2 separate regions of the Homo sapiens genome follow, and region 1 is linked to region 2. The links are contacts of gene promoters, found by promoter capture Hi-C in human tissues and cell types (Jung and others, 2019). All regions are on one chromosome and are shown on one strand. The core of a region is centred on a gene start or on the middle of the fragment in contact, and the rest is flanking DNA. Distances in the headings are between cores, read along the strand shown.

Evidence for each region. The method cuts DNA at HindIII sites, captures the fragments that hold promoters and counts their contacts. A contact is called where the count stands out against the background at its distance.
Region 1: a contact is called between a fragment that was not itself captured here and the fragment with the promoter of LIPM in region 2, in 1 of the 25 tissues and cell types used here (lymphoblastoid cells).

What each region holds. Positions count from the first base shown.
Region 1 is chr10:88,377,467-88,383,763 of GRCh38, reverse strand. All of the region lies in intron 4 of RNLS (renalase, FAD dependent amine oxidase), which reads left to right. LOC101929727 (a long non-coding RNA gene) reads right to left here. Exons shown (of 3, transcript XR_001747537.3): 3 at 3,643-6,297. Among named protein-coding and RNA genes, the nearest start is that of RNLS, 200 kb to the left of the region's middle. The HindIII fragment of the contact is 4,906 bases long and covers 1,563-6,297 here.
Region 2 is chr10:88,797,474-88,803,979 of GRCh38, reverse strand. LIPM (lipase family member M) reads right to left here and starts at 1,250. Exons shown (of 9, transcript NM_001128215.1): 1 at 937-1,250. The coding sequence starts at 1,083. The HindIII fragment of the contact is 4,906 bases long and covers 568-5,473 here.

The DNA.
Region 1 (6,297 bases), core at 2,766-5,265, 420 kb after region 2:
ACAATCATTACTTAAAAAGCACTTAAAGAATTCTATTAGATTCTTCTCTTGGTATTTGCCTTTTAGCATGTCATTATATTAATTACTTCCAATTGAAGGGTAGGTGGAAGCTCCTCAATTGCACAGTTAAATGGATTTTGAAATAAGGAAATTTCATTTGCACTTGCATCAAAGTCCAAAAAAATCCACTGCTGGAATTGTAGTTTGAACTCAAAAGATATATCTGCTGCACGTTTGTGTGGAAATGGAGGTCTTGCTTCTTGTTTTAACTTTTGACAGCACAGGAAATGTAGAAAGCAGTTTGACATTACATGTGATTCAAACAACATTAGTTGTCACTGAAATGACTTTACCACAGTATAAATTTCACTTGTAAGTGCTGTTTTGCCTAACAATTTTAGGTTGAATTTTTAAAGAAACATTAACAGTCTGTAGGAAAGCTCATTTCCAAAACTATTCAGTATTCAATTATAGGTGATAGTGGTGCATCTCATTCATAAAAATTTCAATCTTGGCCCTGAGCTCAAACAAATCATAATGAAATGTTACTACTACTTAGCAATTGTTTCTGCCATGTGATAGAGAAGTAGAATATTCAGATTCTATTCTAACAAAACTTTACAGGACTAATGATGGTTAAGTCCGCAAAAGTAAATGAATATCACCATTGACACTACTGTTTCAATTACACATGATAGATTTAAAGATGTTCCACAAAGCACCGCTGATGAATAATATGAGTCACTATAGGTTTAAGATGCCTTACATTTTGAAAAGCTATATGAATTTGTACAATTAAACCCTTTTTCTGCTTTAAAATAAATATTTTACCACCGTCTATTGGAACACATCTTAGAAGATTCCCCTTCAGGTTGTGCAGAATTTGTGTTCTCTCAGTTTTTTTGGAAATGTTGTCACCTATAGTTTTACAATGCAGGCTATTCATTAGGCTAATTCTTTAATCACTGTAGACTCAGAATTGACTCCTCAAATAAATAATAACTGAGTGGTATCAGCTATATCTGTCAACTCATCAAGATGCAAGGAAAACCACTCAAAATTACTTGCCTTGTCTTTTAATCAACAATTGCCATTGCTTCCAGTATTCTCAACTATTCAAGCAACTGTTCTCACCAAAAAGCTAATAGTCTTAAACAGGTTTGTTCTATCTGGATAATTTATTCAACTGCTATAATCAAACACAATTTAATTTATTCATCCTCAGTAAATAGCTTTCCTTGCTTGGGAAACAAATGAGCTACTCAGAAAATTATTTTTGATGCAGTGTTATTTGCACTTTTTATTTTTGTGAAAAAATTCTACTGTGATGATATATTCAATTTAATTTTTTATTTCTATGACTATTGGTTACTGGTGAGTTGAGAATAATGTGATGAGTGTTTAACCTAGAAATGCCTGTATATATTGTATTTTTTTAGCATAGCCAAAGTGTCATGCACAATAGACACAATGCTTTGCCATCTAATTTGATAACAGTCATCTACACTCCACTGTACCTGTCATTTGAAGTCCACTTTTCTCTTCTTTTACTGTTTTGAGATGATAGGTATGAAATGGCAGTTTAAAAAATAAGATGTCACAGTACAACGTGGCATGTAAAACACAATCAAATGATAACTATGTCAGTATGATTTGTAGTGTACCCAGCAGCACTGCAAAGCAATAAAAGCAACATATACAGTCAATATGTCACAACTACTCTACTCTGCCATCGTAGTGGGAAAGTGATCATAGATAATAGATATATATATGAAAGAAAGAGCATGGCTGGTTCCAATAAAACTTTATTTATGGATACTGAAATTTGAACTTCATATAATTTGTATGTACCAAAAAATTGTTATTTTTGTATTTTTCAATCACTTAAAAATTTAAAGACCATTATATCAGCTGGGGGGATATAAAAAAACCAGACAGGGGTCAGATTTGGCCCATGGATGGTAGTTTACCAACCCCTGTTCTAGGTAACTAAGTATAAAGTAGATTTCAGAAAACATTGATAAATATTTTTCTAAAATTTAGAAACTTTTAAGTGATATATAATTTGTACTTTAAAACTGTCTCTGTTTGATATATCATCTTAATATTTGTTTAATCACAGAAACCTAGTGTAATCTATAATTCAAAGGGACGGTCATCTACAATTAGAGGGAAAATTCAAGGAGAATCAACTGAAAGCCTATTATCACTAATAAAAGAATTTTTTAAAAGCTGAATATAAAAAACAAAAAATACTTTTAATATGTATATATATATAAATACACATACAAATATATACATAATTCAGTAGTTTTACTATACTTCAGCAATGGCCAATTTGAAAATATTGTATTTTTAAAAAACTATCCACAAGAATAACGAAAACAACAGACTACCTAGGAATAAGCCTAAAATAATTGTACGTGAGTAGATGAAGAAAACTTCTAAAACTTTGCTAAAGGATCTACAAAATGACCTGGATATATGGGGAAATATACCATGTTAATATACAAGAAGACATAATAAATATGTCAGTTTGCTACACATTAATTTATTAAGTCAAAGCAAGGCTGTGACTTAAGTGCCAAGCAAGGCACTTGGCGAGTTTATTCTGAAATTTATCTGAAAGACGAAATTCTTAAAATCTGCAAAGATATTTCTGGGGGAAGAAAAATTAGACTATACTATGCGTTCTACTGGATATCAGAACATATCAAAAAGCTATATAAATTAAAATAAAATGGCACTTTTGTAGTAATGATCAAACAGTTTAATGGTTCAGAATAGACAGTCTAGAAATAGACATATATTTATTTAAGAATTTAGTTCATAAAGGAGGCATTTCAAATCAATGGAAAAAGAATGGATGATTTAAATAAATGGTACAGAGACAACTGACTATCCATCTAAAAAGAGTTAGATTTTCACTGTCCCATACCATGTAAAATAATAAATTCAAGATAGAGTCAGAGACTGATCTTATGATGAATAAGAAAAGGTATAAAAGTGCTAGAAGAAAGTATAGGATATTTTTATATTCTTCAAATGGGAAAGCCTTTTTCTAAAAAAGACACAAAACCGGCCGGGCACAGTGGCTCACGCCTGTAATCCCAGCACTTCGGGAGGCCGAGGCTGGCGGATCACGAGGTCAGGAGATCGAGACCATCCTGGCTAACACAGTGAAACCCCGTCTCTACTAAAAAATACAAAAAAAAAAAAAATTAGCTGGGCATGGTGGCGGGCGCCTGTGGTCCCAGCTATTTGGGAGGCTGAGGCAGGAAAACAGCATGAACCCGGGAGGCAGAGCTTGCAGTGAGCGGAGATCACGCCACTGCACTCCAGCCTGGGTGACAGAGAGAGACTCCGTCGTCTCAAAAAAAAAAAAAAAAAAAAAAAAAAAGATACAAAACCCCAAGACTAAAAAATGAAAACAATGAACGGATACATAAAACTCAAATTTCTCTATTACCTAGCAAGCAACTGGTTGAATACATTTGCAATATAGGTAACAAAAGTAGGATTAATATGCAGAAAATATGAGCAAGACAAATAACCCAAGAGTCAAACAGGCAAAATTTGTGAATAGACAGTACACAGAAGAAATGCAAATGATCAATAAGCATGAAAAGATAATCAACCTCCTTCGTTGTTGCAATTTTTTATTGCAATGTGACAAGCCACTCCAAACTTTAGTGACATAAAACAATCATTATATTATGCCAAGAACTCTGTGGGTCAGAATTTTGGACAGGTTACAATGCAGACGTTTGTCTCTGTGCCTTGGTGTCTGGGGTCTCGGCTGGAAAGACTCAAAAGCTGGGAGGTGACTGGACAGCGGGGGGCTGATACCTTCAGGAGCCATCTTCACTCACAAGTCTGTTGGTTGATGCTGTTGTAAGCTGGAGCTGTCTGCCAGAAACCTATGAAGCCTCTGTAAATGTCCTGAGATTCTTCACAACATGATGGCTGGGTTCCAAGATTGAGTCAGAACCAGCCATAAGTTGTATCATCTTTTATGACTTAGCTCAAAAGTCACTGAGTGTCAGTTCTGCCTTAACCACAGACCCTCTTAGTTTCAAGGGAAGGGGATATAGACCCTACCTCTTGATAGAAAAGTTGTCAAAGTCATATTTAAGAAGAGAATCAGGGATGGGAGATATTGTTGCAACCATTTTTGGAAAATCTATCTGGCAAATTAGTTATCAGGAAAAGGCATATTAAATACCTAGAAACCACTTACTTACCACGTATCAGACTGATAATTCTTCCCAGGTTCATTCATTCATTGGGAAAAAGAGCCAGAGGAGTGACAGAAAAGAAAGAAAAAAAAAATCATTTGAAATTTTAGCACTATTTTTCCCTATTAAATAAAAAACACCTTGGTCTGGGGGGAATTTTTTTTGTTCAAAATATTATTAAACTGGCCATTTTACTAGAATGTGAAAAAAGTATTTATTTTGTACACTCTGCTTAAATAGCAATCCATTTTCACATTTAAGTAAACCAAAGCAAAGAAATTCCCTGTTATTAATTTAATTCACTCTTCAACATTAAAACATATATGGTCAAGTGCCACACAACAACATTCCAGTTAATGACACTAGTGGTCCTATAAGATTGTAATGGAGCTGAAAAATTCCTATGACCTCGTGATGTTGTAGCCATCATAATGCCAGAGCAAAATGCATTGCTCATATGTTTGTGGTGATGCTGCTGTAAATAAACCTATTGCTTTGCCAGTCATATAAAAGTATAGCACATACAAATATATACAGTACATAATACTTTATAGTGGTAGTAAATGACTATGTTACTGGTTTATGTATTTATCTATACTATTGTAGGGACCCAGGGAAAACTTCTCCTTCACCCTCTGAAGGTTTGATGGAAATCAACTGACAAAACAGCAGATTAATAAAAAAGGCAAATACAAATTTATTATAATTTTACATGACTTGGGAGCCTTTAGAATGAAGACACAAAGATGAAGGAAACAGTCCATTTTTATACTTTGGTTCAACAAAGTATGTATAGCATGTGCAAATATGATTGGACAAAAAGGGTATGATCTAATGCTAATAGACTGAGTGGGAGAACCCAGTAAGGCCTGTCTGTTTAGATTCTTCCTGGCCTTTCTGTGCAGCGTTCCTTACTTCTGGGTAAGGGGCAGGAGCCTCTCTAGAATGGGGGGTCTTATGACCTACAGTCAAACAAGGTAGGTGAGATAATTTTTTATGGCCAATTTTTATACAGAAAGGCAGGGGTGAGGTGGGAGTTAAAGTAATATTTTAAAATTTTATTTTAAGTTAAAGTAATATTTTTAAGCTGGCTTTGGGGAAAAGGGTTCTGGTTTCTATGACGTGCCTTGGGAAGAAGGGATTCTAGTTTCAATGGCCAGCCTTAAGAGAGAATGAGTGGCCAGAAACAGGATGGCAAAAGATCAGGGAGAACCTTTTGCTTCTGAGGCCTTCCTTTTGAGGTACTGTTTTCTGAGCTCCAATACCATATTTTTTATCATTATTTTAGAGTGTACTTCTTAGACTTATTTTTTTTTTAGTTAGCTGTAAAATGGCCTCAGGCAGTTCCTTCAGTAAGTATTCCTAAAGAAGACATTGTTATAGGAGATAAACAGCTTCATGTGTGTTAATGCTCCTTGAAGACCTTCTAGTGGGACAGTACGGGGAGGTGGAAGACAGTGATATTGACGACCCTGACCCTGTGTATACCTAAGCTAATCTGTGTGTTTATGTCTTAGTTTTTAATGATAAAGCTTAAAAAGTAAAAAAAAAATTAAAAATACAAATTTATAAAATAAGGATATAAAGAAAATATTTTCGTACAGCTATGCAATGTGTGTTTTAAGCTAAGTGTTATTACAAAAGAGAAAGTTTAAAAAAAAGTTTACAAAGTACAAATGTTAAGGAAGCTAAGATTAATTTATTATTGAAGAAAATTTGTTAAAATAAATTTAGAGTAGCCTATGTGTACAGTGTATATAAAGTCTACAGAAGATTACAGCAATGTCCTAGGCCTTCACATTCATTCACCATTGACTCACTGACTCACCCACAGCAACTTTCATCTTGCAATCTCTATCTATGGTAAGTGTCCATACACATGTACCATTGTTTATCTTCTACACTGTATTTTTATTGTACCTTTTCTATGTGTAGATACACAAATACGTAACATGTGTTACAGTCACCTGTAGTATTCAGTACAGTAACATCTGTACAGATTTGTAGCCTAGGAGCAATCCACTAGACCATATAGCCTAGGTATGTAGTAGGTTATACT
Region 2 (6,506 bases), core at 1-2,500:
ACATTGCACATGATCGTCTTACTCATCTGGAGGTAGCCTCTCCTCTTTCTCACCTGGGAGGGTTTATTGCGTAGTATTTATAATTATAGACTTTGTGTTTAGGCAGTCCTGAATTTAAATAGTAGCTATGCTATTACATTGGTATGGCCTTGTTCAACTTGTTTAACCTCTTTAATCTCAGTATCTAGATTTGAAATATGTGAATGATCCTATCTACTGCACAGGGCAATGAAATTGAAATAGAATAGTATCTCTGCTTGTGTCATAATCCCTGCTATGGGATAAGTGTTACCATAGGGTGACCATTACTAAAACCCAGCTTAGAATTTGAAAAGCTACCAAAAAAAAAAAAAAAAAAAACCTCCTGGGAAAACTAAAGAGATGTACTGTCATTTATGCATTTTACTTGTAGGAGGTTCTGTGTAGCACTAACTCGGGGTCCTTTTATTGCTATTCAGCAAAGTACCAGTCCAGAAACAGGATAAAAAGAGTAGATTAGAATGGTATAAGATGCTACTAGAAGTGTGTGCCCTGATAGCAAGAAGCAAAGGCTGACACCTTTGCAATATGGAAAAAAAGAATAAAAGAATAAAAGGTACAGACAAAATGGAAATAATCAAGGGACTGGGGTGAACTTAAAAGGCCTTAATTACTTCTCCACTCATAGGATGAACCAAAGTGTTCAAGGAAAAGTTAAATTGTGTTTGAAGCTCAAAGAGATTAAGTCATTTGCCCAAGTTTACTAAATTTGTGTGAGGAGACCCCAGGTCTACTGACATCCAGTTTAGCATTCTTTCCAGTACAATTTGCTACTTCATCACTATGCTCTTCTAGTATGAATCACCACCATGTATAAATATAATACATAATGTAAATAATACACAGATACAAACGTTAACATGTTAAGTACCTCATTTCCCAGAAATCCCAACTTACAATATTCATGAATGCTTCTGGGTCCACAGCTTTAGTTGGCATATGTACTGAATTCACATTTCTCTGGAACATATACGCCACCAGAATCAGAAGCCACATTTCCATTCTGTGTGAGACAATCCACTGTCTTGACAAGGTTTCCAACATGGTCCAACATCTGCATTTATTTTTTCCTGCCAATGTAACAACTAATTCTAAAGTAAGAAGAATTTGTGGGTTTAAAAACTCTTCACATATTTTCCTGCTGCAATTCCCTCTTCCAATTCTGAAGCAAATTAGGCAAGCTTAGTTGGTAGGGAAAGAACACAAAGTAGGCTGGAAACATTGCCTAGGATGTCCCAATACTATCTGACTCCTCCCATTCCTCCCTCACACAACTTGTAATCCCTAATCCTTCAACTTCCAGGTGTGTAGAACTTTCTTTGATGTGACCTGGAATTTTGTGCATTTGATACAGCCTATTAAAACCCCTGTACTTTATCACCAGGTAATAAGGAGTGTAGGGAACCTCTTTCCTTCCACTCCTAGATTTTATCTTTCTTTGATAGATAGCAAAAGATGGAGTCTACAGAAAGCACTGAAAGTTTCTATAGTCATATTCTGGGTCTTCAATGATCACTGTTTTTTGGTTAAAGATAAGTGTTGTGATAAGTGCTTTTATTTAAAATATCTAAAATTTTATGGACATTTTCTACTTTTAGGGATGGGTGAGAACATTGATTAGAAGAAAATGAATCTTCCATGTTTAGCCCATTTCGTCTAGTTCAATTAAATAGATATACACAAAATTTTTATTTTAAGTTGTAATCACTAGTTAATCACTGGGATATGACTAGATGGATTATCTAGTAAATAAATCATCAGCTATTGTGTATTTTAGTTTTTTATATATATTTATTATATTTTAAGTTCTAGGGTACATGTGCACAACGTGCAGGTTTGTTATGTAAGTATATAAGTGCCATGTTGGTGTGCTGCACCCATTAACTTGTCATTTACATTAGGTATATCTCCTAATGCTATCCCTCCCCACTTCCCCCACCCCACGACAGACCCCGGTGTGTGATATTCCCCTTCCTGTGTCCAAGTGTTCTCATTGTTCAATTCCCACCTATGAGTGAGAACATGCAGTGTTTGGCTTTTTGTCCTTGTGATAGTCTGCTGAGAATGATGGTTTCCAGCTTCATCCATGTCCCTACAAAGGACATGAATGCTTCCTTTTTTATGGCTGCATAGTATTCCATGGTGTATAGGTGCCACATTTTCTTAATCCAGTCTATCATTGTTGGACACTTGAGTTGGTTCCAAGTCTTTGCTATTGTGAACAGTGCTGCAATAAACATACATGTGCATGTGTCTTTATAGCAGCACGATTTATATTCCTTTGGGTATATACCCAGTAATGGGATGGCTGGGTCAAATGGTATTTCTAGTTCTAGATCCCTGAGGAATCGCCACACTGTCTTCCACAATGGTTGAACTAGTTTACAGTCCCACCAACAGTGTAAGTGTTCCTATTTCTCCACATCCTCTCCAGCACCTGTTGTTTCCTGACTTTTTAATGATCCCCATTCTAACTGGTGTGAGATGATATCTCATTGTGGTTTTGATTTGCATTTCTCTGATGGCCAGTGATGATGAGCATTTTTTCATGTGTCTGTTGGCTGCATAAGTGTCTTCTTTTGAGAAGTGTCTGTTCATATCCTTCGCCCACTTTTTGATGGGGTTGTTTAAGGGATAATATCCAGAATCTACAAAGCTATTGTTTAAAATAATGGGTTGCAGCCTAGTTATTTTCATGAACTAAATGTCTCAGTTCAACTGAATGTGAGGCAAATGTGAACAATCCCTTAGCATACTAATGATTGAGCAGGTCAGGAGGGTTGATTTATTTGTCGTTTTAAGTAAAGAATGTGTTAAAAGTTAAAAAAATATTACTTAAAGTGAAATATTTCTCTATTACATCAATTCTTCAGGGTTGAGCTAACAGCAGCCACACCAATATGCAGACTTTTGGAATGTGGTGGGTGAAGGAGCCAGATGCTGAAACCAGAAAGATAAGTCTGTCAGAACATATCTTCCCACATGACTCAGCCTCCTCCACTTTGGGCTGGTTGCATGGGTGTGAAGAGGTAAGTCTGCATCCTTATCTGGACCAGTGTGAATGTCACTAACACAGCTAATCTGATGCCAGCTAGAGGAGCCATTTGACCTAATTAGAAGAGCAGAGAAAACACTTATCCAACACTCTGCAGAGCCCTGTGTCTTCAGCACCCCATGAGTTCTCCCTCAAGGTAGGCAAGATGAGATTTCAGAAAAGAATATGGGCTCCCATCACTGACATTTTAGGATTTGTAAATGTTATATAGCCAGAAAAAAAGATATCATTCAGCTTTCATTTTCAGAAATGTGAAGACACATTAAATGACTTGCCCCACATTGCCTAGCTAGACTGTGGCAAGGCCAGAACTGAGATTCAGATATTTTAATTTGCTGTTTAGCATTATGACTACATGGGAAAATATATAACACTTCGATGTCCTCTTCTCCATCAAAGATGAAGCCTAACCTACTAACAGGAAGCAATTACATCAATCTCTGTGAACTGTCTTTTTAAAAAGTTATCTTCTGGATTTAAAATTCAGAATAATTCCCAATGATGTCATTATGAGTTTGACAGATACCATCTGTCAAATACCATCTGTCAGATACCATATTACTTTGCTGTAATATGTTCAGGTAAGATCAACTCCCGCATTAGATTAATATGCTTGTGAATACTGTAGAGACTTTTTTAGGAGAGAGTTTATGGCAATAAACTGATTGGTTCAATCCCCCACCCATTCCTTTTTATTTTATTCCTTTTATTTTTTAGCTTTCTGCAGCTGCAGCCTTGGGTACTGAGTACATTGCAGAGAAAATATAATTAAATTTGGCTCTCAAATTCCTGGGGAACTTTATAAGGTCATAACTGTCATTTTGGAAGCAGGCAAAGTCACTTCCCAAGTCAGCTCAAAGAGCGACATTTTGAGCAAATATTAAATAAGTGCAGTTCTTCCCCACTGCAGAATTTTACAACACCCTTACCACCTTAGCAATCCCCAGCCCATGGAGAGCATCAGAAACATGATAAAAGAGATGGGAGGGGGCCGGGCGTGGTGGCTCACACCTGTAATCCCAGCACTTTGGGAGGCTGAGGCAGGTGGATCATGAGGTCAGGAGTTTGAGACCAGCCTGGCCAACATGGTGAAACCCTGTCTCTACTAAAAATACAAAAATTAGCCAGGAGTGGTGGAGGTCGCCTGTAATCCCAGCTATTTGGGAGGCTGAGGCAGGAGAATCGCTTGAAACCAGAAGGCGGAGGTTGCAATGAGCCAAGGTCCTGCCACTACACTCCAGCCTGGGCAACAAGAGTGAAACTCTATCTCAGAAAAAAAAAAAAAAAGAGAGAGAGAGAGATGGGAGTCCAAGTGTGCCAGTGTGTCTGCCCACTTCAAGGTGCTGATCTTGAGAGATTTCTCTTTAGACGCTTCTATTCAGGAACTCTGTGACCTTAGAAAATGGATTTTTGTCATCTGAGTACATAAAGAAGTAGGATCTGAAGTATCTGGATTTCTTAAAATGAAGAAAATTGATCTCCCTTAATGTACACTATCTATAAATTAATATTAAAATACAGAAAAGCAACAGGTCAAGTAGAATAAACATTAAGAAAAAGCTTTCTAATAAAAAAGTGAATGAAAATCAACCTGTGGCCCTACACATTCATATACCATGTGTAAAAACTGTAAAAACCAAAACAGCTAAAAAACCAACCAAACCAATAAAATGGTACAAAATAAAAACAATAACACAAGAATAAGGAAAAAAAAAAGGCTTGAAGCTGTAAAAACAAAAACATTCCCTAACCTGAAGGAAAGAGGTGGGAGCAAAGAGTACGTGTCAAAATCAGCCTCAGAAACTTCCACCCTTTATACACGGTACCCAGTAAAGCGCACCTCAAATTGGCTTAGTAAGTAAGTCCCTTCTACATTTCATTTGAACCATGAGGTGTAAAACCATAACATTTACCTTCATCTTTTGAATATGAGGTCAAACTCTCAAGGATTAACTCTATTTGGACATGAGAAATAATTCCTCTCAAAAATTAATGAAATAGTAAAAAAAAAAAATTAGAGCTTCTACAAATCCTGGTTCAAGTGAGGATTCAAGAATCAGAATGTACTATTAATGTGACCCAATTTATGCCCACAGTTTGTGAGTATCCCCGGTAATATGTATGCACTGAAATATACTTTTCCTCACATTTATTTGGCTTTAGAATACATAAAAATCAAAATTCCAACAATTGTTTCTAAACATTTTTAAGTTACATAATGTTTTGAGATGCTGACAAAAACAAGACTGTCTCCTCAGAAATATGTACATTTGCATCTCCATGCTAAATTTCATAATTTTTCAAGGGACGCATGGTCCTCTTGCATTTCTTCTGCAGAGCCGTTGGGCTTTGATATGGTTTGGCTGTGTCCTCACCCAAATCTCATCTTGCATTGTAGCTCCCACAATTCCCACGTGTCATTGGACGAACCTGGTGGGAGGTAACTGAATCATGGGAGCAGGTCTTTCCTCTGCTGTTCTCGTGATAGTGAGTAAGTCTCATGAGATCTGATGGTTTTAAAAACGGAAGTTTCCGTGCGTAAGCTCTTTTCTCTTGTCTGCCGCCATTCAAGACAGCCTTTGAGGCCTCCCAAGCCACGGGGAGCTCTAAGTCCAGTAAACCTCTGTCTTTTGTAAATTGCCCATTCTTGGGTATGTGTTTATCAGCAGCGTGAAAATGGACTAATACAGTAAATTGGCACCAGTAGAGTGGGGCGCTGCTGAAAAGATACCTGAAAATGTGGAAGCAACTTTGGAACCGGGTAACAGGCAGGGGTTGGAATAGTTTGGAGGGCTCAGAAGACAGGAAAATGTGGGAAATTTTGGAACTTCCTAGAGACTTGTTGAATGGCTTTGATCAAAAGGCTAATAGTGATATGGACAATGAAATCCAGGCTGAGGTGGTCTCAGATGGAGATGAGGAACTTGTTGGAAACTGGACTCTTGCTATGTTTTAGCAAAGAAACTGGCGGCAGAATGTTTTCTGTTTGAGTTACAGGTTAGAGGGCTTTCAAGATAGTGCTGTTCTACCCCAGTGTTGGACTGAGTTACTGAGTTTTATTAAAACTATTCTTTCAGGTTTTGAAAACTACACCGTTTAGTGTGGGGCTGTGCTATGGAAGCAATCTGAAAGTCAGAGTCAATGCTTTTGTGAGAACCAGTCTATAATAATGACCAAAACTGTTGTACTGAGTCAAGCTTATGTTCCACTCCTTCTCTTAATATGAGTTATCTCATAAGATACCCCGAGGTCTTCAGGCAAATGGTCTTCAGAGTGTTTGGATTACTTGCCCTCCCAGTTTGTCAGACATGCCTGCATGTGCTCTTAGACTCTAATTGGTATCTTAGCTACATCAATCAACATGTAATTGTTCTTCATATACTATACTCCAGTGTTGAAATATTACAAACCA